2 separate regions of the Homo sapiens genome follow, and region 1 is linked to region 2. Evidence: promoter capture Hi-C in 16 types of primary human blood cells and fetal thymus (Javierre and others, 2016). All regions are on one chromosome and are shown on one strand. Each heading gives the region's core, a stretch centred on a gene start or on the middle of the fragment in contact. The rest is flanking DNA. Distances are from core to core; before and after follow the strand shown. Region 1 has its middle 36 kb from the start of LRPPRC. Region 2 holds the start of SLC3A1 (solute carrier family 3 member 1).

Region 1 (2,700 bases), core at 152-2,651, 240 kb after region 2:
ATTTTTGCAAGTTGTAGTGAACGCTGTGATGCATGGTCCAGATTCCCCTCTAGGAGTGAAGGTCTTTTTCCCCTAGCCACTGGCAGTGCTACTGGAACTTGGCCGTCGGCTGTTAGTCCCCTAGGAAGATTGCACTTGCGTGAACAAAATTGCCTCTCCTGAGGTCACACTTCCTGCCAGGATTTTTTTTTATCAGTGTGGGGTATTAAGATCAGCCTAAGTTGGGACAACTCTGAGAGGTCATCCTAGTGCTTAAAGAGTTCCCCGTGGCATCAACTGAGGCCTTTGTTGGGATGGCATTACAACTCGACTTCTACCCAATCCCAGTTTCTTCTCCTTCTTTCTGTAAATACTGATCATGAGAGCACTCCTTAATCAATCAACTCACTGCTAAACTTCATCTCAAAATCTGACTCCTGGCAGCCTTACCCTATGACAGGAGAAGTCACGCTTTTGAGGTGGAGGTCTCTGACAGCTACTGGTCCCACAAAAACAAGTGGGAAAAGTGTGTCCACCAGGCTGTCAACTCAGCTGGCGGAGAAACTGCTGCATGTCCTAGCTCCGAATTGCTCCCACAGCCAGTGCATGCGTGTCAACAGACACTATAGGAGTATCAAGAATATTTAAAGGAGACTGGGCATGGTGATTCACGCCTATAATCCCAGCACTTTGGGAGGCCAAGGCAGGCTGATCGCTTGAGGTCAGGAGTTTGAGACCAGTCTGGCCAACAGGAAGAAATCCTGTCTCTACTAAAAATACAAAAATTAGCCGGGCGTGGTGGTGCACACCTGTAGTCCCAACTACTCAGGAGTCTGGGGCGTGAGAATCCTTTGAAGCCGGGAGGTGGAGGTTGCAGTGAACCAAGAATGTGCCACTGCACTCCAGTCTGGGCGACAGAACAAGACTCTGTCTCAAAAATAAATAAATAAATAAATATGCCGGGTGCAGTGGCTCATGCCTGTAATCCTAGCACTTTGGGAGGCTGAGGCAGGCAGACTACGAGGTCAGGAGATCAAGACCATCCTGGCTAACACGGTGAAACCCCGTCTCTACTAAAAATACAAAAATCAGCCGGGTGTGGTGGCGGGCGCCTGTAATCCCAGCTATTTGGGAGGCTGAGGCAGGAGAATCGCTTGAACCTGGGGGGTAGATTTGCAGTGAGCCGAGATCGCCACTGCACTCTAGCCTGGGCGAAAGAGCAAGACTCTGTCTCTAAATAAATAAATAAATCAATAAATAAATAAATAAATAATAAAAATATTTAAAAGAGTCTGAGGGTGGGAGGAGAGAAAGAGAGAAACTATCATAGACAAAAAGCTTGTAGCTTTAAAAATTTGTCTTTGAGTTAATCTTACCTAGTTATCCTTGGCATTTGAAGTCAAATAGACTTTAAGCAATTTCTTTATTTTGGGTTAGCTACTAAATTTTTCTGAGGTGGCTTCCTCATCTATAAAGCAGAAAGGCACAATCAGCCTCACAAGCTTGTCGTGGGTTGAAACATCAGTTGCCTAGTAGTCCCAAACCTGGCCTTTGGTAGACACTTGGTAAGAATTTATTTATCTTGTATATCCTCCATTCTCCTCATGCCATTTTCCAGATTCCAGGAAAATCACTGCTTTTCTTTTTGTTGTTGTTTTCTGATTGGCTCCATCCATCCCAATGTTTTTCTGGGGATTCTGTTTCAGGCTGAGGGTATCTGACAGTGTTTGGCCACCCATCTTCAGACTAAAGGGTCTCTCTCTAGATGGCTAGTCTCATCAATTCAGTCCTATACATTTTAGTTCTGGAGTGGGTGCACTTCATTGTAATCCCCCTGGGAACTGAGACAACCCAGCAATGTCCAAGTGTGATTATTTTCATTTTAAATCTAAGCTCTGCTCTTGGTTTCATGTGCAGAAGTCATTTCTCCCAACTAAACTGTAAGTTCTGTGAGGGCAGTTAGCATATCATCTCTTGCAACCTATAGGATCTAGCCTGGAGGAAGAATTTTTTGCCAAATTACTTGGGGTTGTGACAAAGAAACTAAGAGAATAAACCATGTTCTTAAAAATTAATATTTCCTGGAATCTTCCCAATCACTAAGTGGCAATTTCCAAGCCACTTTAGGTTTTTTTGTTATTGTTGTTTGTTTATTTTTTGAGACAGAATCTGGCTGTGTTGCCCAGGCTGGAGTGCAGTGAGGCAATCTCAGCTCACTGCAACCTCTGCCTCCTGGGTGATTCTTATGATCTGGGAAGTCTGGCGAATAGCAGAGTGGACCCTGTTATGGATTTAAATAGAAAGGACCTTGCCACTGGAGACTGGATCCTGACATTTCTTGAAGGTCATCAGAATTTGTATTTATCACAAATTCTTGAAGCCAAGGAACTAATTCTAAACTTATATCTCAGACCTATATCCTACTAATTCTCCCTATCCCCTCTCTCTGCTTTGTTTTTCTATCACCATCTGACGTACTATTCGCTTATTTGTCAATAAAGATAGGAATTTTGTTTTGTTAACTGCTGTGTCTTTATCAGGACTGTGGCAGGTATGGTGTATAGTATAGCAAATGCAAAAAAAAAAATAGTTGTCATATTAATTAATGTTTCTCCAGTTGGGAAATGGCTTCTGATATCCTGACTCTGTTACCCACTACCCACTTCCATTGAAATGCCTCATGGGAACTTTAAACTTACGTCCAAGATTGAGCTCATCATT
Region 2 (2,700 bases), core at 95-2,594:
ATAATTTTACTCTGAAGTATGTTCTGGTTTGAGCAATATATTGTAAGGATGTTTTACACATAACCCACCAAGAAATTAACTTAGCTTTTAAAAAATAATTTTTCACTTTTTTTTTTTTCTTTTTGGAGACGGGGTCTCCCTATGTTGCCTAAGCTGGCTGGCTGAGAGCTCCTGGGCTCAAGCGATCCTCCCACCTCAGCCTCCCAAGTAGCTGCAACTACAGTCATGCGCCACTACCCCTGGTTAATTCTTTACTTGTTTTATACTAATACGGACATGGTTTTAAACAATCCTTAATTCAAGTAATGACGAATGCATACTGCTACCCCTTTTCTACTTCCCTTCCTTTTTTAGAATTTAAACTTTAAGACTCAGCCTATACTTTTTACAGATATCACTTGATTTTTAAAAAAATATTATTTATGCTTTATTCACTAATACACTCCCAGCCACACAGCCAAACTAGCTGCTTCGTATACTGGGAAAGCAATTCCCAACTGCCACCCTGACATATTCAACTATAAAGTCCCCAGAAACAGGACATAGATTTTAGAAGGAAGGCTGCTCTAAGAAGTTAGAATTGATGACTGAACAACTGTATGTACTTAGTGGGCAATAAATTAAACAACTCGTTTGGCTCAAAGGCCTTCAGCAAATAGCCCTTCAGCTAGTAAAATAACTGCTGGGTTCTGCTGAGTGATTTTCTAAGAATATCATAAACAAGGAGCAACTTGGCATGACCAGTCATAATGGAATGTGCTTACTGAACAACCCAGGCATAATTTGGTTCTGAAGAACAAAAGAACCATAAACCAATCTCATCCTGGCACCCACCCTAAATGATCTCTGGGCATGTACCTTTCAGATCTCCGTTCCCATCCTTGTTACTGTCCTTGAAAGACCTTGGGTAGATCTGGTACATGGGCCCCTCCTGCCACCAGTCTAGGCACTTTGGAGAGAGGGCAATGATGGCTATGGTGGCCGCGATGAGCACCAGCACAGAAGCCACTGTGAGCCAGAAGAGGATCTCCCGAGGTATGCGGTAGCGGGCCTGGCCAGAGAACTGGAACAGCACCTCCTTGGGCATCCCCGCATAGGGCTGGACGCCCTTGAAGTCGGGCTCCTGGGAGCCAAGGATGCCCCTGGTGCTGTGCTTCAGGTTGTCTGTTGAGCTTCCTGGATCCGGGGTCTGCTCCAGAATGTCTTCATTATGGACAAACCCGTTGTTTGTCTGGCATCCCTTCATACTCATCTCGATGGAGTCTCTCTTGCTTTTATCTTCAGCCATGTCTCACCGACTTATGTCTTCGGAGTGCCTTCCTGCAGTAAGGGAGGTGGAAGAGTGGCTTGCTGAATGCTTGGTCTTGTTAATGAACTTTGTGTGGTTTATAAATAAACCTAGCTGGACAAAGTCCAGCCAAGGAAGAAAGGGTAAAAGTACAGAGGTTTAAAAAAAAAATCTCGGGACTGGCGCGGTGGTTCATGCCTGTAATCCCAGCACTTTGGGAGGCCGAGGCGGGCAGATCACCAAGGGCAGGAGTTTGAGACTAGCCTGGCCAACATGGCCAAACCCCGTCTCTACTAAAGGTATAAAAATTAGCCAGGCGTGGTGGTGTGCACCTGTAATCCCAGCTGCTCGGGAGGCTGAGGCAGGAGAATCGTTTGACCCCGGAAGACAGACGTTGCAGTGAGCCGAGATCGTACCACTGCACTCCAGCCTGGGCGACAAGAGCGAGAATCCATCCCACAAAAAAAAAAAAAATCTCCACTGGGCATCTTGGCTCACACCTGTAATCCCAGCAGTTTGGGAGGCTGAGGCAGGCAGGTCACCCGAGGTCAAGAGTTTAAGACCAGCCTGGCCAACATGGTGAAACCCCGTCTCTACTAAAAATACAAAAATTAGCCGGGCGTGGTGGTGCATGCCTGTAATCCCAGCTACTCAGGAGGCTGAGGCAGGAGAATCACTTGAACCCAGGAGGCAGAGGTTGCAGTGAGCTGACATCGAGCCATGGCACTCCACCCTGGGTGACAGAGGGAGACTCTGTCTCAAAAAATAAAATAAATAAATAAGAAAGAAAATAAAAATAAAATGAAACTAAAAATAAATTAAAAAATTAAAAATTGGAAACAACCCAGGTAGCTATCATCAGATGGATAGATAAACAATGTGGTTATACATATAGTGAAATATTATTCAGCTTTGAAAAGGAATGAAGGCTGGGCATGGTGGATCACGCCTGTAATCCCAACACTTTGGGAGGACAAGGCGGGTGGATCACTTGAGGTCAGGAATTGGAGACCAGCCTGGCCAACATGGCAAAACCCATCTCTATTAAAAATACAAAAATTAGGCCAGGCGCGGTGGCTCACGCCTGTAATCTCAATACTTTAGGAGGCCGAGGCCAGTGAATCACCTGAGGTTGGGAGTTCAAGACCAGCCTGACCAACATGGAGAAACCCCGTCTCTACTAAAAATACAAAATTAGCCAGGTGTGGTGGCGCATGCCTGTAGTCCCAGCTACTTGGGAGGCTGAGGCAGGAGAATCGGTTGAACCTGGAAGGCGGAGGTTGCGGTGAATGGAGATCACGCCATTGCGGTCCAGCCTGGGCAACAAGAGTGAAACTCCATCTCAAAAAAAAAAAAAAAAAAAATAGCTGGGCATGGGGACATATGCTGTAATTCCAGCTACTTGGGAGGCT

Evidence for each region. The method cuts DNA at HindIII sites, captures the fragments that hold promoters and counts their contacts. A CHiCAGO score of 5 or more calls a contact.
Region 1: a contact is called between a fragment that was not itself captured here and the fragment with the promoter of SLC3A1 in region 2, in 3 of 17 cell types (M2 macrophages, M0 macrophages and M1 macrophages). The highest score is 7.6, in M2 macrophages.

The regions. Positions count from the first base shown.
Region 1 is chr2:44,030,393-44,033,092 of GRCh38, reverse strand. No RefSeq gene overlaps it. Among named protein-coding and RNA genes, the nearest start is that of LRPPRC, 36 kb to the right of the region's middle. The HindIII fragment of the contact is 164 bases long and covers 1,320-1,483 here.
Region 2 is chr2:44,274,124-44,276,823 of GRCh38, reverse strand. It overlaps SLC3A1 (solute carrier family 3 member 1), which reads right to left and starts at 1,344. Exons shown (of 10, transcript NM_000341.4): 1 at 859-1,344. The coding sequence starts at 1,288. The HindIII fragment of the contact is 21,913 bases long and covers 1-2,700 here.